4 separate regions of the Homo sapiens genome follow, and all the other regions are linked to region 1. Evidence: promoter capture Hi-C in 16 types of primary human blood cells and fetal thymus (Javierre and others, 2016). All regions are on one chromosome and are shown on one strand. Each heading gives the region's core, a stretch centred on a gene start or on the middle of the fragment in contact. The rest is flanking DNA. Distances are from core to core; before and after follow the strand shown. Region 1 holds the start of TAF4B (TATA-box binding protein associated factor 4b). Region 2 overlaps SS18 (SS18 subunit of BAF chromatin remodeling complex). Region 3 overlaps SS18 (SS18 subunit of BAF chromatin remodeling complex). Region 4 overlaps SS18 (SS18 subunit of BAF chromatin remodeling complex).

Evidence for each region. The method cuts DNA at HindIII sites, captures the fragments that hold promoters and counts their contacts. A CHiCAGO score of 5 or more calls a contact.
Region 2: a contact is called between a fragment that was not itself captured here and the fragment with the promoter of TAF4B in region 1, in 1 of 17 cell types (total CD4 T cells). The highest score is 5.5, in total CD4 T cells.
Region 3: a contact is called between a fragment that was not itself captured here and the fragment with the promoter of TAF4B in region 1, in 1 of 17 cell types (non-activated CD4 T cells). The highest score is 6.5, in non-activated CD4 T cells.
Region 4: a contact is called between a fragment that was not itself captured here and the fragment with the promoter of TAF4B in region 1, in 1 of 17 cell types (non-activated CD4 T cells). The highest score is 5.6, in non-activated CD4 T cells.

The regions. Positions count from the first base shown.
Region 1 is chr18:26,224,567-26,228,117 of GRCh38, forward strand. TAF4B (TATA-box binding protein associated factor 4b) reads left to right here and starts at 1,879. Exons shown (of 15, transcript NM_005640.3): 1 at 1,879-2,710. The coding sequence starts at 2,368. RefSeq lists enhancers at 1,509-1,578, 1,609-1,708 and a silencer at 2,359-2,518. The HindIII fragment of the contact is 8,704 bases long and covers 1-3,551 here.
Region 2 is chr18:26,023,410-26,026,960 of GRCh38, forward strand. All of the region lies in intron 10 of SS18 (SS18 subunit of BAF chromatin remodeling complex), which reads right to left. Among named protein-coding and RNA genes, the nearest start is that of SS18, 65 kb to the right of the region's middle. The HindIII fragment of the contact is 3,991 bases long and covers 1-3,551 here.
Region 3 is chr18:26,041,582-26,045,132 of GRCh38, forward strand. The region is part of intron 5 of SS18 (SS18 subunit of BAF chromatin remodeling complex); the gene reads right to left. Among named protein-coding and RNA genes, the nearest start is that of SS18, 47 kb to the right of the region's middle. The HindIII fragment of the contact is 6,803 bases long and covers 1-3,551 here.
Region 4 is chr18:26,072,066-26,075,616 of GRCh38, forward strand. The region is part of intron 3 of SS18 (SS18 subunit of BAF chromatin remodeling complex); the gene reads right to left. Among named protein-coding and RNA genes, the nearest start is that of SS18, 17 kb to the right of the region's middle. The HindIII fragment of the contact is 3,197 bases long and covers 386-3,551 here.

The sequences.
Region 1 (3,551 bases), core at 629-3,128:
AAAGGAAATGCATCTCTTGGTGACCAGCACACAGGAGGTGCTCAATAAATTGAGTTTTTCTCTCCCCAACTCCACTTTGAGGCATTTGCTAGAAGGTAAGTGATCAGGGAATTCACCATAGAAAGGGAGGGTGATTGGTTTAGGTCATGAGATGGATTTAGACTGGTCAAGAAGTGAGAGACAGTAAAGGTAGTAAGTGTGTGGACTTTACTAGATCTTGTGAGTAGATCTTATCTAAACGTGCCGGCACACGTTTACAGAGAGGGGGAAAAGCAGGAGCTGTAACCATCAGGTTGCCTGCTATTTTAGTCCACTCGGGCTTCTATAATGAAATATCATAAACTGGGTAGCTTATAAAAAGAGAAATTCATGTCCCATAATTCCAGAGGTTGGGAAGTTCAAGATCAAGGCAGATGTGGTATCTGATGAGAGTCTACTTTCTAGACAGCAGTCTTTTTACCATAACCTCACTTGCTGGAAGGGGTGAGGGATCTTTCTGAGGTTTCTTTTTTTAAAAAAATTATTTATTTAATGTATTTAACTAACAAATAATAATTGTATGTATTTATGAGGTATCATGTTACATTTGTATGTGTCGTGAAATAATTAAATCAAGTTAACATATTCATCACTTTAACATGATTTGTCCTGAATGGAATCCCATTCATGAGGGCTCCACCCTTATGATCTAATCACCTTTCAAAGGCCCAACCTTCTAATATTATCAACTCCAGCTTTAGCATTTTAACACTCAGTTGGGGGTATAATCCTAGCACTTTGGGAGGCCCAGGCGGGAGCTCAGGAATTGGAGACCAGCCTGGACAATATAACGAGATCCCGTTTTTGCTAGGCATAGTGCCGCTCCCCTGTGGTTCCAGCTACTCGGGAATCTGAGGTAGGAGGGTAGGATGATCACTTGAGCCCAGGAGGTGGAGGCTGCAATGAGCCAATGGTGCCACTGCACTCCAGCCTGGGTGACAGAGTTAGATCCTGTTTCCAAAACAAAACAAAACAAAACAAAACAAAACAAAACACCACAACATTCAGATCATAGCATCTGCCTACTTGTAAAATCGCCTTTCAGTGCAGTGTTGGTTCCTACAAACATACAATATAATGACTTTAGCTTGAAATTAAGGCATCTTCTCTGACTGCATTACAAACAGGCAAGTTTTTTCATATCGATTCACTCAACACCTTTTATTTATCCAGATAATATCTAGGATCACGCTTAATATCTAAGTGCTAGAATCTAATTATATAGATATCAAAAGGCATTAAGTTTTTCAGAAGACAGACATACAATTTTAATGTTTAGAGGTGATAGAGACACCTATAGCAGCACCAAAGAAGAAACGATTTTCCATTTAAGATTTTAGGCAGTTTAACTCTAAAATATGAAAATAGGCACATCTCACAGACTATAAAACTATACGCCATTTTAATTTTTACAATGTCAATTCTAACTGCGAATTTTAGCAACGCTTCAGTGTGAAGACAGCAGAGAAAAACACTGAAAATGCGTGATTGAATTCTTATTGAGTCACTCTTCTCGGAAATCAGTCCTCCCCATTTTCTCCTTAAAAAATAGAATCCTGGAGATAGTCTAGTGCTGGCTTTTCGAGGAACACACTACAGGGGACACAAGGAGAGGAACACGGATGCCGCAGTTTTCCAAGTGCAGCTTGCCCCTCCCACGTGATAGGTTTCTGGCATCGCCCCTCCTTGCTGGCGATTCTGGGGAAGATTTTAACGCTCCCTGGAGCCGTCCCCAGTGACGTCACGGGCGCGGCTCCGCTCCTTGGCCAATCACGCGGCCGGATCCCGGGGAAACCCGGGGCGGTGGCGGCGGCCTGGGCGCGTGCGCGAGGTCTCCGCGTGGCTATATAAACATGGCTGGCGTGGCCGCGCGGCGGGGCCGTGCCAATCGCGCGTAGGGGGCTGTGGGCACTCGGGGTTCGTAGTTTTGAAATTTCTGGCGGGGGAGCAGCTGCGCAGTTAGGCTCGAGGTGTGAGCGACGACCTTCCGGGAGCCGCAAGTCCAGGCTCCCCCGCAGCGGGACCCGAGCCTGAGGCGCAGGGCTGAGGCAGCGCACGTGTGAGCGCCGCTGAGGAAGCTGCGAGAGGTCGGGCGGGTGTCGCTCCGGGGGCAGCCCAGGCTCGCGCGGACGAGAGGAAGGTCCGGGACGCGCGTGTCCTGCCGTGCAGCGGGCGCCCGTCACTGACTTCGCTGCTGCGGCCCCCGCGCCTCTCCCCAGCGATGCTGTGGAACCCGAACCGCACCGGAGTCGGCTGCCGCGCGCCAAGCCTCCCCTCACCTCTGCTCCCGGAACCGCAGCGCCAAAGCTGCCGCTGAGCCCCTGGGGGATGCCCGCCGGCCTCACCGAACCCGCCGGCGCCGCTCCCCCGGCTGCTGTGAGCGCCTCGGGGACCGTGACCATGGCCCCGGCCGGGGCGCTGCCGGTGCGGGTGGAGAGCACTCCGGTGGCCCTGGGCGCCGTGACTAAGGCTCCTGTCAGCGTCTGCGTGGAGCCCACGGCGTCCCAGCCCCTGCGGTCCCCCGTGGGGACCCTGGTGACCAAAGTGGCTCCGGTCAGCGCCCCTCCTAAAGTCAGCAGCGGCCCTAGGCTGCCTGCTCCTCAGATAGTCGCCGTGAAAGCCCCCAACACCACGACAATCCAGTTTCCTGCTAATTTGCAGCTTCCTCCAGGTATGTTGATAACCCTTTCCAGCCTTGTCTGTCGGTCCAGCTGGCGGCGACGGGAAAATTCGCAGCTCCAGATTGCTCCTAAAAAAACTGAGCCACGGGAACATTTCATAATCTTGACTTTACAGTTAACATATTCTTTTTGTGTCATTACTACATAGTTTTTCTTTTCATATTTAAGGAAAGAATCTTTTCACCTAAGTGATACAGTAAAAAGCTACATCAGCGTATTCGGGGGGGCTTTCAGGCACTGGCTCTTAGGTGGAGGAGATAATATAGCCGAAGTTAATTTCCATGTGGAGGATGGACCGGTTTATACCGTGGATTTCCATACGCTTAGATTATGTAGAAGTGCGTTGTACTTATTTTATTAATTATGAATGAATGAATGAACGAATGAGGTATGGTTTCGCTCTGTCGCCCAGTCTGGAGTGCAGTGACACGATCATGGCTCACCGACGTCGAACTCCTGGGCCCAATCGATCCTCCCGCCTCGGCCTCCCAAAGTGCTGGGATTACAGGCGTGAGCCACCGCGTACGGCCTAACAGTGAAGTTCTTGTGTATTACAACTGAAAGAGATTTTTAAATTTAACCAAGTCAGAATCGGTTTACTGCTTTCTAGTACCAAGTACGAATAATGCTGTTCCTGCACAATCTTTAAATGTCTTATGATTCTAACTTTCAATTAGCAGAACCCCTGACTGGGAACACGTGCCACAGTTGACAAACAGATCAGTCATGCAATTGTTACAGTTGCAATTGAAGCCATGTGTCAACGCTACTGTTAATGAGTCTTTCACTACTTTCTATCCTAGGGCTTTTTACTCTATTGGGCTGTATTTC
Region 2 (3,551 bases), core at 410-2,909, 200 kb before region 1:
TCTCATCAAATTGCTCAAAACAATTTGGGCAAGAGAGAAATTTCTTCAATCAAACAATTTGATAAAGGGAAAATCTTAAAAACAGAGAAAAAAGACATATTAACTACAAAAGAACAAAGATAAATGACAGCAAATGTCTCCTTGGAAACAATGTAAGGAAGAAAAGAGTGGAGCATCTTTAAAGTATGGAAAGAAAACAAAAACAAACTGTCCACCTAGAATTCTATACCCAGAGAAAATATCTTTCAAAAATAAAGGCAAAATAAACATTTTTTTCAGACATACAAAAGCTGATTATTACCAGTACACCTGCATTTCAAGAAATGTTAACATCCTTCAGGCAAACAAAAATGATACCACATAGTAATATGAATCCATACATAAATAATGAAGAGTACCAAAAACGGTAACTACATGGGTCAATTTAAAAATTTTTTTTTCCTTATTATTTAAGTATCTTTAACTGATTTTTTTAGACAAAAATAAATTCAATACACTGTGGGGTTTATAACGTATACAGAAGTAAAATTTGTAACAATAACACAAAGAGAAGAAAAGCAGACTACCTTAAGGTTCTTACACTATGTATAGGCATACTATCACTTGAAGACACTGATACACGCTACACAGACGAACCTTGAAAATATTATTTTAAGTAAAAAAAACAAAACACCAGTCACAAAACTCCACATATTGTATGATTCCATTTATCTTAAATGTACTGAATAGGCAAATCTATAGAGATAGAAAGTAAACTACTGTTGCTGGAAAATCTCCAAATATTTGAAAACGAAATTACAGAATGAGTATTTAAGTATTTAAGGCTGAGTAGTTAAAGGGGAATGAGGAGTGACTGCTAATAGGTATACAGTTTATCAGGCTGGTGAAAATGTTTTAAAATTAGAGGGTGGTGATGGCTGCACTTTTTTGGGGGGACAGGATATTAGCTCTGTCACTCAGCCTGGAGTATAGTGACACAATCACAACTTACTGCAGCCTCGACCTCCTGGGTTCATGCAATCTTCTGCCTCAGCCTCCTGAAGAGCTGGGACTACAGGCACATGCCATCATGCCTGGCTAGTTTTTTGTAGAGGTGGGGGTCTCGCTTTGTTGCCCAGGTTGGTCTTCAACTCCTGGGCTCAAGCAATCCTCCTGCCTTAGCTTCCCAAAGTGCTGTAATTATAGGCGTGAGCCACCACCCCCAGTCTACCTTTTTGAATATGCTTAAAAACCACTGAATGGTATACTTTAGAATGGTGACTTGTATGATATGTGATTTATATCTCAATAAAGCTGTTTTTGTTAAAAAGAGGAGAAAAATCAAAGGAAGGCAGAAAAAGAGGAAAAGGAGAACAAAAACCAGATGTGACAAATAGAAAAAATAAAGATGATATACTTAATCATATCCATAATCACACTAAACATGTCAAAAACCCCAATTTAAAGGCAGCAATTGGCAGGCTGGATTTAAAAAAAGCAAGATCCGACTGACTACATATGCTGTCTACTTGAAATATAATTTAAATATAAAAACAAATATGTTAAAGGATGAAAAATTATTATTCTAATACTAATCAAAAGAAAAGTGGTATTGCAGTATTGATACTAGACAAACTAGATTTCAGAGCAAAAAATATTGGCAGGGATAAAGACAGTTATTTGATAATGGTAAAGGAGTAAATTCATCAGAAAGATTTGAAAATCTCCAAATATTTGAAAATGAAATTGCACACTTCTGATGTGTTGTGGGTCAAAAAAGAAATAAAAAGTGAAACCAGGATGTATTTTGAACTGATTAAAAATAACAGCATCAGATGCAGTTTAAGAATACTTAGAAAGAAACATCTATATTAGAAAGAAAGACAGTTCTTAAATCAATGGGACTACAACTTCAATCTTAAGAAACTGGAAAAATAAGAACAAATAAAACCCAAGTAAGCAGAAAAAAAGAAATAATAAAGTTCTGGGCAGAAATCAAAGAAACAGAAAAGCAAATGGGCAAAAGGCAATAAATAAAATCGAGCTGCTTTTTGAGAAAAATGAATAGGTAGATTAAAACTAGCCAGATAAATGAGGACAAAGAGAGAAGACACAAATTATTAATATCAGAAATGAGAGAGGTAATATCACTACAGATTATGGAGATATTGAGCGATGATAAAGAAATTATTCAACAACACAGATAAAATGGACAACTCCAATGAAAAACACACAAAACATTTACTCAAGAAAAAAATAGATAACCTGAATACCCCCTATATTTCATAAATTAAATTTATAATTTAAAAATTTCTCACAAAAAAAACTACAAACCCAGATGGCTTCACTGGTAACTTTGCACCAAACATTTTAGAAAGAATAATGCCAATTTTCTGAAGGGAGGAAATTCTTCCCAACTCACTCTATGAAACCAGTGCTACCTCAGTAACAAAACCAGACAAACATGTTACAAGAAAAAAAAAAAACAGATTCCAAAATTTGTCATGAAAACACAGATGTTCCTTGACTTGCCATGGGGTTATGTCCCAATTAACCCACTGTAAGCTGAAAATATCCTAAGTTTTGCATACCTCATGTAATTTATTAAACACTGCACTGAAAATATAAAACAGAATGATTGTACAGTTACTGGAAGTAGAATTTCTACTAAATACACATCACTTTTCACAGCATTGTGAAGTCAAAAAACCTAAGTTGAACCACTGTTATGTCAGGACACAACTGACTGGGACTACAGGCATATGCCACCATGACTGGCTAGATTTTTATAGAGGTGGGGGGTCTTGCTTTGTTGCCCAGACTGGTCTTGAACTCCTGGACTCAAGCGATGCAGATGCAGAAATTCTTAACAAAATTTTAGCTAATCAACCCAATATATAAAAAGGATATATATCATGACCAAATAGATTTTATCCCAGGTATGAAGTTGGTTCACATTTGAAACTCAAACAATGTAATTCAAAAATTAGCAAACTAAAGAAGGAAAACCATAATTCCCTCAATAGATAAGGAAAAATCATGTGACAAAATTCAACATTCATTCCCAATAAAAATTCTCAGCAAACTAGAAATATAACACCTGATAAAGGACATCTACAAAAAACCCTACATGAACATCTTATATAAGGATGAAAAATGACAACTTTCTCTCTAAGATCAGGAACAAGACAAAAGATGTCTACTCTCACCATTTTTATTTAACATGGTATTGGAGTTTCTAGTTGAGGCAAGCAGGAGGGTGGGGAAGGAACATGGGGGAGCATTCAGATTGAAAAGGAAGGAGACTGTCTTTATTCACAGACAACATGATTTCTATGTTTGAATATTCAATGAAATCTACAAAAACACTACTAGATGTGATTTTAGTAAAGTTATAGTTTTGATAAAATATCAATACACAAAAATAAGCTGTATTTGTATATACTAGCAACTAATAACTGGAAACTAAAATTTTAAAAAATTTACAATAGCATCAAAACACATAAAATACTTAGAAAAATAAATGTAAGACCTATATAGTGAAAATTATATGACACTGTTAAAAAAAATTT
Region 3 (3,551 bases), core at 561-3,060, 180 kb before region 1:
TAGGTAACCTGATCGGACATTTATGTAATTCATTTTCAGTAAATGAAGGTTTTGCCTTTTCTTCTCCAACACTGTCTAAAGACCTCTTGTCTTAACAGAAGGTAACTATATAACTAAAACCTATAATATTAGAAACAAAAAGAAAGCAAAACCACAATAGCCAAAAGAAAAAAAAATCCAAAAAGATACATAACAAAACACTAAACCTTGCTCTAAAGGAAAGCAAAGTAATTGTAGCTTAAGCCCTAGATAGAAAAGACCATGCCACTTGTGCTTTATCTTTTGGGACTGTGAGCAGTTCCAATCCCAAAGAGCTCAATTACTACCCTTCTTTTACTGTCACTTCTCTCCCTCAGAGGATCCCAACATCATTCATGATCAAGCCTAAACCACAGAGAGAATGCAGTCAGCTAACACTACTAAAGCACAATACATTTCATAATTTTCCTCGAAGCCTTATCCATTAAAGAAAAAAAAAATTATGACTATGACTTCAATTCTGATTGTTTAGGAAGTATATTATTTTCCTTCTTAGGATAATGAAATTATGCTACACTGGCAATGTATATTATCTCTTGAGATACTAATGAAACTAAGAGAAGCAAACTCAAAAGGTTACCCCAAAATATGTTCTAAAAATTTGTACTGCAGAGTGAAATAGCATTATAAAATGCATCTTCTACAACCATTTTCTGCAAACAATGGTATCATACATTACTACAGACTTTAAGGTTATTCTTCATCTTTTACATAAACAATTTTGATGTTAAGACGCACTACAAAGCGTGATAATACATATGCAAAGACCCTACTGATGTCTTAATTACCTAGAATATATTTTTGCAAGTGTTTTGCAAGGGCATATAACAAACACTTATCATTAGCACATTATTTCTTCCCATTTTGAGTTTTATATTCTAATAGATATTCTATGAAAATAACATCCTTTATTTTAAACACATGTAAAAACCTCCCAAATTACCATATTTTATATTATTGGCATTCTTTTCTCCAATGAGATGGTTAATACTTAATTTTATCTTAAGTCAGTGGTCAAAAAAAAAAAAAAAGAATTTTCTTTTGAAGAGTAAGTCAAGGATCAAATTTATTGAGTACTTATTAGGTACAACACCCCAGGCTAGGAGCCATGGTAATATAGAGATGTGATGAGCACTGTCACTGTCTATAGTGACACACAATTAGGTAGACTGAAAAAAATAATTTTTAAATACTTAACTATAAGGAAAACATTGTTTTAATCTGTCAATTCTGAATAATGTAATTTTACAAATATTCTATATATATAGAACATTCATACATATACACATGTATTTCACATCCTCAGATACAAACCAATACACTAAAATTTTATAAAAATTGTATCATTAATCTACAAATTATTTTAAATAATATTGTTTAAAATGACAGCTAACATTTAATGAACACTTATTATTAGCCAGGCACTAAGCTAATAGCTTTACCTGTATTATTTCTCTTCCCCAAAGCCCTATGAAACGGGTAGTATTATTATCGACTTCTTCACAGACAACAACATTTTAAGGCTCACAAACATCAAGGACCTTACCCAAAGCTGTACTGCTACGAAAGGCTCTAAAGTAGCATAGCTACTAAATGGTCCAAAGCCCGTGCTCTTAATCACTATGTGTACTTCCTCTCCAAATTCAAATTGTACTTTTCCCATGCCACTATCTCCCATGAAAAGAGTTCTGTATAATATATCTCTATCACTGTAATATAAAAACCTTAAAATATAAGAAATTTCTTCACCCCACCTATCTTAAGACCATGAAACTCCATAGATAATACCCTCCTCAGGCCTATTTTCACATTCATATTTCATCATTTACTGCTTACATTTTACTATTTGTTCCTTAACCATTTAATCTCTAACCCAATTATAGCTCTTATTTGGAGTTATTTCTAATAATTTATTTGCAAGAATCCCTGTATTCCAAAAAACTCAATTAGCTAACTTACTATCTGCTTAAATAGCTGCTTAAAAAGAATAGGATTCTTTACTTACCTAAATTATACACCTGTCCACATCAAGAATTTTTAGTAGTTAATAAGATGTTTAGATACAATATCAAGGATAAAAGAACAAGAGCAAGTAAGAAAATGTAGGATGACTAGCCCAGTTCAGTAAGGTCACTGCAGCCAAGCACAAATTTAGCTGAGTTTCCAGCAACCAATGAAAAAATGGAAACATGATTCTAGCAAGTAAAGAGAACAACAGCTCATTAAAAGATACAAAATCTTTCATAACATTAGAACTTTAGAAAAAATCTCATAAAAGTTTTAAAAGGTATTAAAAATAATATCAATAACAATTTTGTTATTGTCATTTGTTTCTTTAGTGACACAGACCATCTTTACACACAGTTATTCATACTAACCATTTCTTCAAGCTGGTTATTCTCAACTGTGGGCAGTTTTGTCCCTCAGGGGACACTTACAGCAAGAGGATACCTATCTAGCTAATCAGTCAACAAATAGGATAAAGCAGTGAACAGAATAAGACACAGTTCTTCACTTCATAGAACTCAGAGTCTAAAGAAAAATAATTAAACACATATTTTTTAAAATTATGTAATTATAAGTAGTACTGCTTAAAGGATTCTAAGTATAGGCTACTATACTTAAGTGAATTTGCCTAATAATTTAAAATATAGTGAAGTAAGACGTGTTTTTTATTTTATGTTGTATGCTTTTCATATTTTTTTAGATTTTTTTTTTTTTTGAGACGGAGTCTTGCTCTGTCACCCAGGCTGGAGTGCATGGTACAATCTCGGCTGACTGCAACCTCCGCCTCCCAGGTTCAAGCGATTCTCCTGCCTCAGCCACCCGAGAAGCTGAGACTGCAGTTGCACACCACCACGTCCGGCTAATTTTTGTATTTTTAGTAGAGACAGGGTTTCATTATGTTGGCCAGGTTGGTCTCAAACTCCTGACCTCAGGTGATCCACCCACCTCGGCATCCCAAAGTGCTGGGATTACAAGCATGAGCCACCACACCTGGCCAAGATTTTTCAAATTTAACATCAGTTATTTTAATAATCAGAAATATTTACTGATTACTAAAATCAGAAAAAAATCAGAAAAATTTAGTAAATTTACTTAATTGGGATTTCCTGTAGCTCCTTTCATCCTGGATGGGGGTTTTGGGCCAAGCAGGGGGGTAAAGGATCGAGATTGGAGACTGAGATCAACCACATGGACAAGCGATTAATCAAATCTACATAATACAGTCCCAATAAAAACTCTGAACACTAAGGCTAAGGGAAACTCCCCTGGTCAGCAATATACCCTGTGTGTATTATCACACATCTGTGAGAGGAACACAACACATAGTGACTGTTCAAGGAGAGGACAACACAAACTTTGCATTTGTCCTCCACATTTGATCAGTCAGCAAATCCGCTCTACCTTCAAAATACATGGTAAATATCCCACAATTGACTACTTCTGATTACCTCCATAGCTATCATACTATTTAAAGCCACGATCATCTCTTAAATACAACAAGAGCC
Region 4 (3,551 bases), core at 734-3,233, 150 kb before region 1:
TCAAAAAAAAGACAGTAATAACAACCACTTGTGGAAACATATAGAGACTTAAAATACATTACAACAACAACGAAAAGGTCATTGAGGGAAGGAACAGAAATGAAGTATTTTATGGTCCTTTGATTGGGATGTATATTATAATCTATACAGTAACCACTAAAAGAATAGTAAATATGTAAGATTTCCCAACTAGAAAGAAAAAAAAGGAATAATAAAAAACAAATTAATTATTGGCCGGGCACAGTGGCTCACACCTGTAATCCCAGCACTTTGATTGCTAGACTGAGTTAAAAAAAAAAAAAAAAATCTACATCCTACTCATAATATCGTTATCTCTAACACAAGAAAACAGAAAGGAGGATAATACCATGCAAACACCAAAGAAAGCTTATTTAGCTATGCTAATATCAGATAAAGTAGACTTTAAAAGCATTACTAAAGATAAGAAGGGATAATTCACAATGATGTTGCAGGCGGCGCGCAGCACTTTGGGAGGCCAAGGCAGACGGATCACGAGGTCAGGAGATCGAGACCATCCTGGCTGACAAGGTGAAACCCCTTCTCTGTTAAAAATACAAAAAATTAGCCAGGCGTAGTGGCGGGCGCCTGTAGTCCCAGCTACTAGGGAGGCTGAAGTAGAAGAATGGTGTGAACCCAAGAGGAGGAGCTTGCAGTGAGCCGAGATCACACCACTGCACTCCAGCCTGGGCAACAGAGCGAGACTCCGTCTCAAAAAAAAAAAAAAAAAAAAAAAAAACCTTAAAAGAGCTAAAAGGAAAATCAGTCAGTCCACAATTTGACTTGTACATTTTAAACATACATCTCTCAGTAATCGATAGAACAAACAAACAAAACATTGGAAAGACTAAAAAAACAACAATCATTAAGGCTACAGAGGATTCAAACAAGATTAACACACTTGACCTAACCTAATAGACATATATAGAACTCTGCTCTCAGTGGCTAAACAATACATATTTTTTTTAAATACACATGAAACATCTGTAAAAACTGACCATATGCTGGACCTTGAAACAAATCTCAAGGAATTCCAAAGAACTCAAATCGTAAAATGTTATTTAACCACAATGCAATAAAGCCAGAAATCAAGAAAATAAAATATCCATGTTTGGAAATTAAGAAATGTATTTTTATCAACCAATGCATTAAAAAATAATTATGAAAATTAGAAAATATTTGGAATTAAATAAATATGAATATACTACATATCAGAACTATGATTAGAGGAAAACTTATGTCCATTTTAAATGCATCCTTAGAAAGGTGAAAATTGATGAAAGAGGCATTCATCTAAAACTCAGAAGAACAGAAAAAAATATACCAAAAGAAAGTAAAAGGGAGAAAATCATAAAGATCAGAAATTAATCATAAACAAAAACATACATGAGGTGCCCAAGGGCAAAACTATTTCCATAAGATGATGTTTGCCTTTTATGCTAAGTGCACATTTATAATGATGGTACAAAAGCAATAGTGGATATAATTGCTGGAACCTCATTATGAATCAAGGCAATGACATCAAACTATTATTAGTCAATGTATTACTGGCTGCCACACACTTGCAGTTGAAGAAAGAAAAAGATAGTTTCAGTTAAAAATGTGCTTGATGAAGCAGTAAAAATTATTTTGTAAATTCTCCATGTCTTGTAAATAAATATTCAGTGACAAAATGGGAAAATAATAAACATTATCTGTCACAAAGTAAAATAATCAAGAAAAAGCAGTTTGTGATTGAGTTGCCAGCTGAACTAGGCACCGTTTTCACTGAATACCATTTTTACTTGAAAGAACAATTGTTAACTGTATTTATCTAGGCATGGGTATTTGGCAGACATTTTCTCAAAAACAAACATAGTGAGCAAGAAAATCAACTAATAACATTTGTTGCCAAGATCACATTTGAATTTCCAAGCAAGAACTTGGAATGTGCAAACTTATCTACGACCTTGAGCTTGACAGCATCCCCATACTTAGGCACTTTTCTGATGAGATTAGAGGTGATTTTAACCAATGTAGTCTTTGGTATCACACAGAAAAATGTTAATGTTTGGAAGAACTGTTTAACTCAGTAAACTTATACTTTCCAAATCACCAAAGCATGATGTTATAAAATTATACATGAGTAAAAATCTATTCAAAGTGTAATAAAGACCAATGGGCTTAAATGTACCAGAGTAAGAAAAATGTAATGATACAATTTAAGATTCCACACCACAACTAACCTTAAAAAAAAAAAAAAACTTACTGAGTTCTGCTGTAATATCAAACAAGGTTATCCCCAAAAATCTGAAAAGGCTATTAAAATATTCTTCCCCTTTCTAACTACATGTCTGTGTGAGACTGCATTTTCTGCTACAACCGAAACAAGATACTACAATAGACTGAATGCAGAAGTAGATGTGAAAATATAGTGTCTTCTATTAAGCCAGACATTTAACAGAAACTTGCAAAAACGTAACATGATGCCATTCATCTCACAAAGATAGTTATTTTTCCTTTAAAGAATGTTATTTATATTAACATGCAATAAGTTTATTATTTTTAACAAATTTTTTAGATTTGTTTTAATTTCACAACTGAGAAAAATTTATAATTTATATTAACAATATAACCTACATCAAGTTCTTTTAAGTCCTCAGTAATTTTTAAGAATGTAACAGGGTTCTGAGACCAAAAGGTTTGAAAAATGCTGCAACAGAGCACAATCAAAACCAAAAGTTGATTCTTTGAAAAGACTTAAAAAACCCATAATAAACATCTGGCAAGAATGATCAAAAAATATTTCAAAGCAGAAGTCACAAATAATGACATTAAAAAGAAAATTATCACTACAGACAGTGTTGACATTAGGAAAATAAGATTATTTCAAGAGCTTTTACTTTATTTTCATGCTAATTAATGTTCAAATTTATTAAAATGCTAAAAACCACAACTTACCAAAATAGGCAATTTATAAAATATAGAAATTGTCCTATAACAATTAAAGAAGTAAGTAAATAAAAACTTCCTTGCAAAGAAAACTTCAGATTCAGATGGCTTTTCTAAAGAATTGTACCAATCATTTAACAAAGAAATAGAAATATTATGTAAATTCTTCTGGATAAGAAAAAGTAGAAAATTCTCCAGCTCCTTTTATAAAGCTAGCATAGCCTCAAAATAAAAACCAGACGAAGGCATTATAAGAAAGAAAAATTACAGGTCAATCACACTCACAAACAAAGATGCAAAAATCCTAACCAAAATTTTAACAAACTGAATATCGCAATTTCTTTAAAAACATCATGACCAAGTGGGTCATCAACAAGTAGGTTAATTACAAGAATGCAAGACTGACTGAGCATTAAAAGTATATCAGTATATTTTACCACATTAACAGATTAAAGAAGAAAAAGTCTTATAATCATCTCATTCGATGCAATAAAAGTACTTGATAAAATTTAACATCCATTCAACATATAAATTTTTACTTAGCACATCAGAAACAGAAAGGAGCTTCCTTAATCTGACAAGTTATCTATGAAACACTACAG